Regions from separate parts of the Homo sapiens genome. Here all the other regions are linked to region 1. The links are contacts of gene promoters, found by promoter capture Hi-C in human tissues and cell types (Jung and others, 2019). All regions are on one chromosome and are shown on one strand. The core of a region is centred on a gene start or on the middle of the fragment in contact, and the rest is flanking DNA. Distances in the headings are between cores, read along the strand shown.

Region 1 (4,897 bases), core at 2,398-4,897:
TAATGAATAAGCCTCGAATGTGGGTTATTTATCAATCAAGAGAATATCTTGTTGTTGCTGGGGTTTTTTGTTTGGTTTTGTTTTTTGTTTTTTTTGTAAGCAGGTGAATAGAGAGATCTCTGCTATTGTTCTGGGAAAGTGGCTCAGATAAAGCAAAACAGAAGATAATCCTTTGCCAAAGTGAGGAAGACCAAAAGATAGCTATAAGTAGGCTGATCACATAATTGATCATTCAGACGAGGAGACTAAAGGGATGATATTAATAATTAGGCCTGGACAATGGCTGTAGGCCAGGGCTGCCCTGGAGCTCTGTAGACTGATGGTCACCCTAGCTTACAGGGTCATGAAAGAGGAAGAGTGCAAGGACTTTCCAGTTATCTCTGAACATTATCAGGGCTGTTGGGTTACAAGCAACAGAAACCCATTTGATTATGGGGTTGCGGGGAGGTTAAGATTGATTGGAAGGATGGTGATGAGAGGAGGGTCTCATAGACTCAAAAGGAAACTGGAGAACTCTCCGGGAAAGAACAGGAAGCAGCTGCAGGGACCTGGGTGGCACGCACCAGGAGTTGGTGGCTGTTGTTGTCAGGCGCTGCCTCCAGCATGAGTCGGCTCTCCCACAGTCCATCTATGCAGGGTTCTTTTCAATCCAGATTCTCAGCAAGAGGCCCCAACTGGCCTGGCTTAGCTCAGGGGCCCACTCTTTGGCCCCTGAGGGCAGACACCTTGACTAATTCTCCCAACAAGAACGTGCACTGGGGACTGGGTAGTTCCCCAGAGCAACATCAGAGAAGAGGAGAAGTGGGTGAGCTGGTGAAACCAGCAGAAGCCACGGCACTTGATGACCAAGAACCTCAGCTGACCTCCCTTTGCTCCCCAAACAGCACTTCACCTGCATCACAGCCATGGCTATGTTCATCCATTCACCAACAAGCATCTCCTGTGCAGTCGCCATATGGAGAGAGGCGTTAGCCGTTTCTGAGAGACAGCAGTGAGCAAAATGCACACGATCCTTGCCTCATAGAATTTCCATTCCACTTGGGCAGACAGGTTTTTCTTTGCCTTTTAATTGCCTTAATTGGACTTTTTAATTGCAAAAGTATTAATAATATATGCTTGTTGTAACTAGTGAACCAATACAATGACAGGAAAGAAAAATTTAACATAGCTGCATAATATCACTTTTTCTTTTTTTGAGACAGGGTCTTGCTCTGTTGCCCAGGCTGGAGTGCAGTGGTGTGATAAAGGCTCACTGCAGCCTCAATCTTCTGGGCTCAAGTGATCCTCCCACTTCAGCCTCCCCAGTAGCTGGGACTACAGGTGTCCGCTACCACACCTGGCTAATTTTTTAATTTTTCTAGAGCCAGGGTTGCCCAGACTGATCTATATTGCCCAGACTGGTCTTGAACTCCTGATATCAAGCAATCCTCCTGCCTTGGCCTCCCAAAGTGCCAGGATTATGGGCATGAGACACTGTTTCTGGCCGCATAATATTTCATACAGTGAATGCATCATTATTTATTAAAATATTCCTCTGCCAAGTCATTGAGGTTATTTCCTATATTTTATTCCCATAATAAAAACAATGGGAACAATATGCATACACATTATTATGGCAGTTTGTGTACATGTGTGTATACATATATCTATACATGTTACCTATATCTGCATCTGTATATATATGTATGTATGTGTGTATATATATATATATATATATATATCTTTGTGTTGCTGTTTTTATTTCTATGAAATAGTCTTCCAAGTGGTATAGTTATGTCAGAGATCTGTATCTTCAATTGAAATAGTTAATACCAATTCACTTGCCCCAAAATTGCAGCAATTAACATTCCTATCACCAATTTATAAGTGTTGTCATTTTTTTCACAACATCTTTAGTACTAGGTAGTATCATCGTATTTATTTTTGCCAAGCTGGTGAGTGTCAGATGGTTTCAGATTCTTACTTTAATTTGAACTTTCCTGGCTACCAGTGGGGTTGAGCATTCTTTTATCTATTTATTGGCTGTTTAATTTTTCTTTTCTGAAAACTGCCTAATCATAGGTTTTCCGCAATTTTCTACTGGGTTACTGTAGTCTCACTAGCATTTTTTAAGGAGCCCTCTATGTACTGGGGACACTAACATTTTGTCTGCCATACATGCTGCAGAAGTGTATCATTTGTCTTTTGACTTTGTTTATGGTAAACAAATTGTTTCATTAGTATGAAAATATGTCCTGTGTGTGTGTGTGTGTGTGTGTGTGTGTATTTCCTTTGCCAGTCTCTAATTTGAAAACATATCTGGGGCCAGGCCCAGTGGCTCATGCCTGTAATCCCAGCACTTTGGGAGGCCAAGGCAGGTGGATCACCTGAGGTCAGGAGTTCAAGACCAGCCTAACCAATATGATGAAACCTTGTCTCTACTAAAAATACAAAATTAGCTGGGTGTGGTGGCGCATGCCTGTAATCCCAGCTACTTGGGAGGCTGAGGCAGGACAGTCACTTGAACTCTGGAGGTGGAGGTTGCAGTGAGCCAAACTCTCACCATTGCACTCCAGCCTGGGAAACAAGAGCGAAACTCTGTCTCGAGGGGAAAGAAAAAAGAAAAAGAAACGTGTCTGGGTACAAACATGGCCCTGGTGTTTGTACCCAGCTGCTGGTGTCTTCATCTGCAATTGCATCCATGTATGCATGTGTGTTAAGAGCATCTTTGGCTGTTCAACCAGCTTTCAGAGGTGCACTTGAGTTTACAGCAATGTGTGTTTTCCTTGATGGCTGAGTTTCCACCTTGCGTGAGGCTTCTCCCACCTCAGGTAACACATACATGCTTTTCTGATCCCTTTACCTCACAGGAGCCAGGATGATGAACTCCTCAGCTTAAAGCCCTTCACCAGCTTCCCACTGCCCTAGACATAGACCCCCAAATCCTCAACGTGGCCTTAAGGAATCTGAGAAGAGAGAAGAGGGTTCCATTCTAAAGCAGACCTGGTCAGCACAGAATAAACCCCACACGGGACTCGCTATGCCCACAGAGCACCGCTTCAGTTACAGAGAGAGGGAGGCTGGGGTTTGCACTCAGCTACCCAAAGCTCCTGCTTTCTTAGATCAATATCTAAGAACTTTTTTAGCTGATCTTGAAATCCAGAGACATCTCAATGGCCTGGAAATGTGTTCTTTTTTCATCCCACCAGGCAATCTGCCCCTTCGTGTGTTTTGAGAGCCTGTGCCAAGGTCCCTGTGGGCGGGCAGGAGCTACCTACAATGGTCTCTCAGCTCCCAGACCCCTCCTGATTCCCTAAACTCCCTCCCTGCCAAGTAGACCAGAGGCACCCAAGTCTAACACTGGGTCTAGACAGGTGCTAAGACAGCACCTGTCACTAGGACACATTTCTTGGTCTCTGAAGTGGCTGAAAAATACCCATTGTACTTACCGTTCCAAAGCCCTTTTGCCCACCACAGGCGTGTTTACAGGGGAAGTGTGCTGAGTGGAGGAACTCCCATCACACTGGCCTCTGAGTTACAGGAGAGCTGGGGGCGCCTTCTGAGCCTGAAGCCTGGAAGCGCTCATCACATCTGGGGCTCCCCCTTTTCTTCTTATGGGCCAAGGTGCTTTGACAGGGGGAGCTTGCCTTGGTTTCCTGGGTGGTTGTGAGCACCACGGCAACGGCAGGGAAGCTTCCAAGCACTTCCTGTTCCAGGGCCAGGTTTCAACTCAGGCTCGGGCTGTGTCCAAGGCCCTGGCTGATGGGGAGAAGCTGTGAGTGATGGCATCTCAGAGACCAGTGTGGGTGCCATGTGCCTCCATTCCTGTTCCTCACAGCACCTGGGGCAACCCAGGGCACAGCCTCAGTGAGAACCAACCCCCAAATCTTCAGGCTTCATCTGTCAAAGGAGAAGATTAGACTAGAAGCTTCTCAGATGCCTCCCAGCTCTGGCATTCTGGGGTGCTCTATTTCTAGCATTTTCTATCTGTGTTTTGACAAACATATTTCAATAAAAATTGAGCATTCCGCATTATTAAAAGCTATGCCTAATGAAGTACTTTGCTGATGATGATTTTTAATGCTGCTCTCTCTGGGAGCTAAGGACTGCCTAAAAGTCAAGGACAAGACCAAGAGCCTTCAAGCTGGCATCCAGAGTGGAAATGTTTGGGATTTGTTTGTTTTGTTTTGCTTTTTTTTTTTCTCTGAGATGGAGTCTCACTCTATCGCCCAGGCTGGAGTGCAGTGGTGTGATCTTGACTCACTGCAACCTCCGCCTCCTAGGTTCACCGGGTTCAAGCAATTCTTGTGCCTCAGCCTCCTGAATAGCTGGGATCACAGGTGCCCGCCACCACACCGGCCTAATTTTTGTATTTTTAGTAGAGACAGGGTTTCACCATATTAGCCAGGCTGGTCTCGAACTCCTGACCTCAGGTGATCTGCCCACCTCGGCCTCCCAAAGTGCTGAGATTACAGGTGTGAGCCACCGCACCTGGCCCTAAGTGCAATCTTACAGTGTCCTCAGCGACGTGGCCTGTGAAGCCCATGACCCAAACTAGGGGATGGGGAGGTGGAGGCCATGTGGGTCAGAGTCACATGGGTCACCACGGGTCCATCAAAGGCCTGGACCACCACCCCAGGGATCACAGAAATCCCTAGTTACAGTAATAGGAACCAGGAGGCAGTACAGCTTTTAAGACCCAAGGCCAGCCTCTCCTAGGCCACATACATCCTAAAGTAAAACGGGAAAGTAGCTGCGCTGCCTCCTGTGGCTGTGATCTAGAAACTACGAAACACTCTATAAATGGGAGGTACCCCTGAATTTGTCTCCCGCCTCAGCCCTCAAATCCTGTGATTCTACTCCTCCCAACACCATATTCTGCTTTGCACAGAAGCCGATCGCTGTGGAATGTTCTGTG
Region 2 (4,897 bases), core at 1,315-3,814, 34 kb after region 1:
TCAGCTAGTAAATGGCACCTCCTGGGGGCCCCTCAGTGGTACGACTTCTCAAACCACGAATAAGCACTCCCCAGGCACCAAGAAGGCAAAGCTCCCAGGAGGCAAAAGAAATTAGAGACAGAACTTACAGCCTTCCTGGGTGCCATGCCTCATTTTCAGTGCATGTAAAAAAACTAGAACCACCCATACCCCCAAATAAGAGAAAAAACAAAGAGGTTTAAAAATAATGCAAATGCAGGGCTTTCGTTTGAATGTGAAATAGCACGCTAGGCTCAATGTCCAGAGGTGGTCACAGGGAACCATCAGCAGAAAGAAGGAACGAACAGGAGAATTTTCAGGAAGATCCTACGATGACCTAGAAAACGGGATATGATTACCTACAGTTCGCTTTTCTGCTTAAAATGGTAGCCAGGAATGCAATTGATTTTGATAATAAACTAGTATCGGGGCTGGGTGCAGTGGCTCATGCCTGTAATCCCAGAACTTTGGGAGGCCAAGGCAGGCAGATCACCTAAGGTCAGGAGTTCAAGACCAGCCTGGCCAACATGGTAAAACCCCATCTCTACTAAAAATACAAAACAAAAATTAGCCGGGCATGGTGGCAGGTGCCTGTAATCCCAGCTACTTGGGAGGCCGAGGCAGGAGAACCACTTGAACCCGGGAGGCGGAGGTTATAGTGAGCTGAGATCGCACCATCGCACTCCAGCCTGGGCAACAAGAGGGAAACTCCGTCTCAAAAACACACACACAAAAAAAACTAGTATCGGCCATTGCACTTATGTACACTATACATGGTGACTATATTTCTATTACAACATACCACAAATGAAAATAAATCATTTAAGCTACAGTCAGGAAACATCCTAAATGTTTGTCCACAGAGACTGTTTAAATTAATTACGTTATATCCATACAATGGACCATTAAGCACCTGTTAAACAGAGTGAGGCAGAGAGGAATAAAAAATACGTCAAAAATATGCTATTAAATTTAAAAAGAGTGGTGGGTCAGGCGCAGCGACTCATGCCTGTAATCCCAGCACTTTGGGAGGCCGAGGCGGGTGGATCATCTGAGGTCAGGAGTTTGAGACCAGCCTGGCCAACATGGTGAAACCCTGACTCTACTAAAAATACAAAAAATTAGCCAGCCATGGTGGCAGGCGCCTGTAATCCCAGTTACTTGGGTGGCTGAGGCAGGAGAATCACTTGAACCTGGCAGAGTTGGAGGTTGCAGTGAGCCGAGGTGGCGCCACTGCACTCCAGCCTGGGCAACAAGAGCGAAACTCTGTTTCAAAAAAATAAATTAATTAATTAAAAAGAGTGTAGAATGATGTATACTGCAAGCTCTCATTTATTTTGGAGAAAAAAGAGGCTGTTTACACTCATTGTTACATTTGTGATGAGAAATGGAAAATTCTTGGAAGGATCCACCAGAAACAGAAGATAGTCACCTGCGAGTTGTGGAACTGGAGGCTGAGTGGGGAGATCTGTTTTGCATTGTACATACATTTATTTGAATGCATTCTTTAATTCATGTGCATGCTATTTTAGTAATAGTAATAGAGTAAAAATACTTTTAGAAAAATATGAACTGTGTGTAATAAAGAAGAGAGAACTTCCACAGAAGACACTCTTCTGTGGACCACACCAGCTCCGGTCATTATTAAACCACAGGTAAGTATCCCTCAGGCACGAGGAAGGCCCAGCTCCCCAACTGACCTCATTTCCATCACTTCCCGCCTGCTTTCTTCATATTTATCTTTCCATTCTGAGACCTCTCTCTCCTTGGTTATGATCTAGTTTCAGAGAGAAGAAGAGAAAGGTTAGCCCCAAATGAGTGAATTCAGCTCTGAGCAATTCATAGATCAAGAAAAGGAGACGGTGAATAAATGTGGAATGAAAACTTCCTACAACAAACCATAATTACATTCAGAGAACTTCCCCGAGCATAAAAAAGAAAGCAGCCAGATATCAGACTTTCACAGTGCCCACTGGGGAGCAACTGAAAGGGGCATGCTTTTTGTTGTAAATTCAACAAGGCCAAAAGGCCCATTACACGATAGCGTCTAGGAAGATCAAAACGCATGGTGTGCCACACATCTTTGCCTGCAGCGTTCAGAGGACAAAGTCTGTCTCCAAAGACTCTGGCTTTGTGGACCACGAGCATACGTATTTATAAGTGGCAGGAAGAGGGTAATTACACCACATGCCACGATACCTCTGCTCTGGCGATCTGGAGGGCAGAGTCCAGGTCGGGCTGCTGGAACAGAAGGCCTGCAGGTTTCTCCACCTCAGCGGTCCCGATGCGGGAGTACAAGGCTGTTTTGGAGATGGAGACGTCTGTTGGGTGAGCAGCCTCTCTCTGTGGAATCGTTTTTAATTAAAAAAAAAACAGTTAGCATTAATCATACGACAAAGAGGATTACACTCACCCTCTCATGAATGGGCCAATTGTATGGTTTTGAAACAAAGAACATCAAAAGTATGAGAAAGTGCAAAGACTGATGAACAGGGAAATGCCGAGTCCAGTCTATGGATGGAGATCTATCATTCTGCACCTGGGCAGGCAGACAAAGGGGCTAATGGCAGAGGCCCCTTAAGCTCCGAGGCCTTGGAGTCCAGCATGTCTGGTACCTGCTTATCTCTGCCATTTATCACTCACTGAGCCACTTAGGCACAGCGCCTGAGAACCCAGGGCACTATTCAGCAGCCTCCACTTCCAAAATGAGATCTCAATGGTGAATAATGTTGAATTCTAGTCTATGTTTTCCTAGTTTTGAATAACCACAGATTTGATCACTTTTGTAAGACTGTTTACATTTCCATTTTGGGGGCATTTGTTTAGCTCTGTTTGAAAGGATGTGAGTCACGCAAAGCTTAAAGCCTACTGTAGTTGTCAACCAATATCACCTTTGGCTAGGTAGAGTCTCTGGATGTAAGAGTTATGTTGGAGTTATGTTAGAGTTATGTAAGAGTTCTGTTGCCATGAAGTCTGTTACGTTAATGGGAAAATTAAAAACTGGGTCAATGACAATATCCACATCTGCTGATTAGACCCTGAACAAGTGGCATGATCCACCACCCCAACCCACCCAACTGATGTTGGTTGAGGCTTTACAGCCTTTTGTGGAGGACAGATACTGGCCTCCCACAGGTGAGGAGGAGGAATCTGTGGTTATTCTTTTTCCCTTTGCACAAAATGCTCGGCAATTTGCAACACAGTTGAAATGCGGTGTTAGCAGCATCACTGACCAGCACAGCCGGGTTGTCAGTCTACTTCTACTGCAAAAGAAACATCAAACCAACCACACTCTCAGTCCTATGCATTAACCTCGTGGCGCTGTCATGGCTGCCCAGCGAACCTCTACCCTAGTTATCAATACTAGAGTGCTCTAACAGGCAGAGTAGGCTGCTTCTTCCCTTGGGAAATTATGAGAAGAAATTGAATGGTGGAAGGCTACCACAGTGTAGTAGAGAGAGAGAGATTTGGGGAAAGAATAATGAGGGCTTATCAAGGACAGCAGGTAAGATTAAAGAGCCAACATTAACTGGGAAGGGGGAGGACCTAAAGGTACCTGTGCAGAATTTGTCTCTTCCACCACCAGAACAGGCGTGCCTACCCTACGACAGCATCAGGGAAAATGAACCCGAGAAGGGAGACAGCTTGGAAAACTCAAGAAGTTTAATGGATAGGACCGGAGATGACTGAGTTAGGACCGGTTAGTTAGCTGTATACATGCAGGGTGAAACTATATAGTTTCGGTTGTCCTGGAAGATTGAACGTCTGTTGCCTGGGTTTCTTGGCCCCTGCCTGGCCTTGCATACTTGGGGTGACCCTGAAGCAGGACCCAAATGATCCACTGGCCAGAGATGGAAGTACACAGTCCCCTTCAAGCAGACCCCAGAGACTCGCTCATGTGAGAACAGGGCAGGCTCAGGCCCTCAAGAAGTCCCCGTTTTAAGGACGCTTGACCAGAATATATACTAATAGCCCTCAGCAGAGGCAGGCTGACCTCCCAGAAGCAAGGGCACCACCAAGCCGCAGGGCCGGAGCCTCACATGCAGGGGTTCATCTCTGCTATTGGAAAATGGGTTTCACAGTTCTGCTTGTCATGGGGGAACTTCTCAGGAAGTAGCTGAAAAATGACACAGAGATCAAGACTCAATATTTGTCCTTATGGAGAAAGTTCATAAACACACAATTCTGAAAAAAATTCTGGGCCGTGTGCGGTGGCTCACTCACACCTGTAATCCCAACACTTTGGGAGGCTGAGGTGGGAGGATCCCTTGAGGCCAGGAGCTTGAGAACAGCCTGGGTAACATTGTGAGATCTCATCTCTAGAAAAATTTTTAATAAAAAAAAATTGGGGGCCGGTTGCAGTGGCTCACACCTGTAATCCAAACACTTTGGGAGGCTGAGGCAGGTGGATCACTTGAGGCCAGGAGTTCAAGACCAGCCTGGCCAACATGGCAAAACCCTGTCTCTACTAAAAATACAAAAACTAGCCAGGTGTGGTGGTGCATGCCTGTAATCCCAGCTACTGGGGAGGCTGAGGCACGAGAATCGCTTGAAACCCAGGAGGCAAAGGTTGCAGTGAGCTGAGATCGCGCCACTGCACTCCAGCCTGGGTGACAGAGTGAGACTCTGTCTTAAAAAAATTTTAAAAAGGCAAAGGATTTTAAAAGGAAAAACAAAAACTATTCACTTTTAAAGTCAACAAATGTGTGTGTTTTTTTTAATGAGCAATAAAATTTCAAAATGAAAACAACATTAGTCACCATCAAACTCAGCGTGGACCTTCTGAAGATGAATAAAATGGAGAATCTCAGAGACTGGGGCACAAGGTTTCCCAGAATGAGATTCAATTCTGATCAAAATAAGCAGGCTCCCTGCAGCG
Region 3 (4,897 bases), core at 1,607-4,106, 33 kb before region 1:
CACTGATGGTTTTCCCCCGTGATATTATGAGCAGTGTTTGTACATTTCAGTATTTGTGTATTTCATCAATCAACACTAAGTTATATTACCTCTTAAAAAATGTCATCACGGTTTCATAAGTCGGAATTGCCTGAATCTTGTAGTTCAGTTGCAAGAAGACCCACAAAAGCATTGTTTTCAGAAGATGGAATTCACTAAAGGTAAATAACCTGGCCAAAATAAAAAGATTGAGAAGAAATTTCAGAAATAGCACAAAATCACGCTGCTTGTAAGAAGCTGGTTAGAATGAGTTTGGGAATGAGGTGACACCACATTTGAGTCTGAAGGTAGCCTCAGACATCAAGCAGGTAAACAGCTTACTCAAGGCCACTCAACTGGGAAATGGCAGAGCTAGGATTTGAATCTCAGCAGCCTGACACTAGGGCCTGTGTTTTCACCCACCCTCTGTGCCCCGCAAAACAATGATCGTCATTTAATGAGCTCTTACTATGTGCCAGGTGTTCCCAAGATGTTTTCTGTAGATTTTTTCATTTAATTCCACACAACCATCCTGCAAAGTTAGGATATAGTCCTTACTTTTATAGATGTAGAAATTGAGATTAACCCTACATTTATTTAAAATTTTAGTGTTTTGTTCATCATGGCATTTTTTGGCATCAATTTTAATTCTAATATATTACACTAAAATAGACTGCATCTCGATGACTAAGTTTTTTCATGCTCCCTTAAATTTCGCACCAAGGTGCCTCACTCACTTCACCTTAGCTCTGGCCATGATTGAGGGCTGAAACCTGAATAACTTATCCAAGGTCACACAATTCTGGGCTCAGACCTGGGTATAGGGCAGGTTAGAATCTCAGTTCCTCACCAGACTGGCTGTGGAACCTCCTGTGAGTTGCTTAACTGCCCCGCAGCTGCAATGTCCTCATCTGTGAAAGTGTGATCACAGCAGCTGCTCAGAGGAGAGTGGTACAGAGTGGATGAGGTGAGTGGATGAGTTTCCTATCGCTCCAATAACAAATTGTCACAAACCAAGTGGTTCGAAACAACACGAATTTATTTTCTCATCATTCTGGAGGTCAGAAGTACCAAACAAGGTAAGATCAAGTTGTCAGCAGAGCTGTGTTCCTTCTAGAGGCTCAAGGGAGAATTGTTTCCTTGCCTTTTCCAGCACCTAGAAGCCACCCACATTCCTTTGCTTATGGCCCTTTTCTCAGTCTTCAAGTCAGCAGTTCAGCATCTTCAAATCTCTCTATGGTTCTGACTCTTTGGCTTCCCTCTTCACATTTACAAGGTCCTTGTGATCACCATGGGCCCACCCAGGTCATCTAGAATAAGCTCCTCATTTTAAAGCCCGCGGACACTATTCACAATAGCAAAGACATGGAATCAACCTAGGTGCCCATCAGTGGTGGACTGGGTAAAGAAACCATGGTACATATACACCATAAAATACTATACAGCCATGAAAAAGAGTGAAGGCATGTCATTTGCAGCAACATGGGTAGAGCTGGAGGCCATTATCCTAAGCAAATTGACACAGGAATAGAAAACTAAATACTGCATGTTCTCACTTGTCAGTGGGAGCTTAAACATTGAGTACACATGGACACCATTAAGGGAACAATAGACACAGGGCCTACCTGATGGTGGTGGGTAGGAAGAGGGCGAGGATTGAAAAACTATGTATAGGGTTGTACTGTTCTGTTGTTGAATTGCTACAAAGAAATATCTGAGACTGGGTAATTTGTAAAGAAAAGAGGTTTACTTGACTCACAGTTCCATGGGCTGTACAGGAAGCATGATGCTGGCATCTGCTTGGCTTCTGGAGAGGCCTCAGGAAACTTACCATCTTGGCAGAAGGTAAAGGGGGAGGAGGATGTCACACAGCCAGAGCAAGAGCAGGAGAGAGCAAGGCAGGAGGTGCCACACCCTTTGAAATGACCAGATCTCAAGGGAACTCACTCACTATCAGGAGAACAGCACCAAGAGGATGGTGCTAAGCCATTAGTGAGAAATCCACCACCATGATCCAATCACCTCTCACCAGGTCCCATCTCCAACACTGGGGATTACAATTCAATGTGAGATTTGGTGGGGACACACATCTAAACTATATCAAGGATATTATACTGATCACCTGGGTGACAAAATTATCTGTACACCAAATCCCTGTGACATGCAATTTACTCATGTACAACCTGCACATGTACCCCTGAACCTAAAATGAAAGTTGGAAAGAAAGAAAAGAATCAGCTGATTACTGACCTTAGTTCCATCTGCAGCCTTAGTTTCCTTTGCCATACAACCCAACATATTCACAGGTTCCAGCCAGTGAGATGTGGACATCTGTGGGGCCATCATTCTACTGACTGCATACATACAAAGTGCTTAGTACAGTGCCTGGCACATCATGACATGCTCAGCGGATGGAAGCTCTTATGGATATGTGGCAGGGTCAGGTCCTAGCTCCAGAGCCTGTGCAGTACCTGCTGCAGCATGAGGCCTCTCCTCCATAAATGAGCATTGCCAAAGAATAGCTGCTGGCCAGGCGCAGTGGCTCACACCTGTAATCCCAGCACTTTGGGAGGCCGAGGCGGGCAGATCACGAGGTCAGGAGATCAAGACCATCTTGGCTAACATGATGAAACCCCGTCTCTACTAAAAATACAAAAAATTATCCGGGCATGGTGGCAGGCGCCTGAGTCCCAGCTACTCAGGAGGCTGAGGCAGGAGAATGGCGTGAACCTGGGAGGCAGAGCTTGCAGTGAGCAGAGATCACGCCACTGCACTCCAGCCTGGGCGACATAGGGAGACTCTGTCTCAAAAAAAAAAAAAAAAAAAAAAGAATACCTGCTACCCCGTAATGTCAGCTCTGTAAGTGTGGCTATCTCCCAACCCCCTTCTCTAGTAGCCTCTGATGGTTATCTATGGAGCCATTTCAACATTTCTTAAACCCGTTGACATTTTCAGTCTCTGACCATGGACATTGCACCCTGGCCTTAAAATACATCACCGCTTCCACATTCAACCACTCTATGTGGTTATGGTGGGTGGCACCAAAGACAAACCGTGACTCTAAAGGACAATGAAAATGTCACCCACCTCTCATGCTATTTCTGAACAGAGTAAAACTGTCTCTTTCCTCTCCTTTGGTTTTCAGGCCACCTACAAATGCATGGACTTTGACTCTGGCCAGACAGGACCAAGTTTGTCACCATCTGGCAATCATCGTGAGGCCGGAAGGGGAGACTCTCCTCAGAGCACTTGGTATGATGTCCCTGTGAAGAACTTTGTCAGCTGGGCTGGCGAAGTGGTGTGATTTCCAGTGTAGACTCCACACCTGAGGTCCTCAAGCCCAGAAGGCCCTTTGAGGTCTCACTAAAGAGGGGCTAGCAGCAACATGGGGGAGTCCTTGGGAGCTCCACGAATCAGAATCCTGGTTCTATTATTTATGAAGCATAATTATTAAAGTAAATTCCTCTGTCTTTAGGTCAATATCAGACCTGAAAGTATTCGTTTGTGCAACAGATAACCACACCAAAGACATTCACACACCTTTTCATTTACCTAAGAGCTCTGATGGCCTCAATCAAGACAGAACCCACAGGGACTTGAACCTCCCTCTATGGGCTGTACCATGTGTGTTTACTGGCACTCGCTAGCAGCCATTGGAATGTAAATGGTAATTGTTCTTTAGGGGAAAAAAATGCTTTTCATAAGACACTGTCCTCTATTTTTCACTGAGAAAATTATATATAAACAATAAAAGTCCTCTTTCGTATGTAGACCATAGAGAAAGCCATGACCATGTGAGTAAGATATGAACAAGGATGCCCACTGCTCCATCGCTTGTCACAGCAAACAAACAAAACAAAACAAAACAAAAGGCCATTAGGAAGGGAGTGAAAAGAGATCGTTGTGCATTCATTCAATAGAACCCTTTACAATTAAAATTTTAAATGCTCATTAGATATGCAAATATCAACATGGAGAGAACACAACACACGATGTAAGTGAATAAGTTGCAGAACGTTACAATCACGATGAGAACATGTATTTCAAGTTTAAATCTTTTAAAGCAATATTATTCATGTGGTAAGAGTAAAATTACATAGATTAAATCTGCACAAGTTCCTAACAGTGGTTTAATTGTCTTTAGGAGGGGAAGGAGGCAGAAATGAGGAAGGGAATGGGACTGGGAGGGAAACATAGGCGACTTCTGCTTCATTGGAAATGTTTGATTTCTCAATTTAAGACAAAATATTAATATTCGTTCATTTGGGGAGATGAGTACAATTGTGTTTTGTATTATAATTCTACCTTTATACTTTTTTTTCAGAAACTACAAGGAGATATACTTTTTTTAACAGTAAAAATATTAATATTCCTATTGTTCTTGACCATCAATAAGGAAAAAGAAGGCCTCATGCAGAGCACGTCAGTGAGCTGGTAATGACCACAGGCTTTAGGCCACTCAGACGTGGGTTCAAATCCCAACTCTCATGTTGCATGAGGAGACCTTCAGCTGATCCCGTCATTTCCTATCATCTCTATTCCACAGGCAAGAAACACCAACAGTATCCATCTCATTAGGTTGCTATAGGAATCAGTCTGGGTAACTCACTCAGAATATTCTCTATACAACAACAACTGTATATAGCTGAATAATTGGTGGGTATTGTTAGTGTTAGCTAAAAAAGCATTGGATTCAGGAACTATTATATTTGAGATGGGTGCCCAGGGGTGTCCCAGACACCCATAGGAACCTTGTCCCATGCTGGAGGGCAAAGCCATGGGACAGATGCAACAAGGAGGACATGCATAGCTCTTCTTAGGGAATTCCTGAGACCTCGAGACTTCTCGGGTTATAGGCGGGAAGTCAGGGAGAATTGGA

What was found. The method cuts DNA at HindIII sites, captures the fragments that hold promoters and counts their contacts. A contact is called where the count stands out against the background at its distance.
Region 2: a contact is called between a fragment that was not itself captured here and the fragment with the promoter of BTBD16 in region 1, in 7 of the 25 tissues and cell types used here (IMR-90 fibroblasts, aorta, hippocampus and 4 more).
Region 3: a fragment that was not itself captured here is called in contact with the fragment with the promoter of BTBD16 in region 1 in 1 of the 25 tissues and cell types used here (spleen).

What each region holds. Positions count from the first base shown.
Region 1 is chr10:122,270,046-122,274,942 of GRCh38, reverse strand. BTBD16 (BTB domain containing 16) reads right to left here and starts at 3,647. Exons shown (of 16, transcript NM_144587.5): 1 at 3,429-3,647. The HindIII fragment of the contact is 10,681 bases long and covers 1-4,897 here.
Region 2 is chr10:122,234,859-122,239,755 of GRCh38, reverse strand. It overlaps TACC2 (transforming acidic coiled-coil containing protein 2), which reads right to left. Exons shown (of 23, transcript NM_206862.4): 17 at 2,218-2,361; 18 at 1,719-1,795. Among named protein-coding and RNA genes, the nearest start is that of BTBD16, 34 kb to the left of the region's middle. The HindIII fragment of the contact is 8,813 bases long and covers 1-4,897 here.
Region 3 is chr10:122,302,501-122,307,397 of GRCh38, reverse strand. It overlaps BTBD16 (BTB domain containing 16), which reads right to left. Exons shown (of 16, transcript NM_144587.5): 10 at 90-209. Among named protein-coding and RNA genes, the nearest start is that of BTBD16, 34 kb to the right of the region's middle. The HindIII fragment of the contact is 8,257 bases long and covers 1-4,897 here.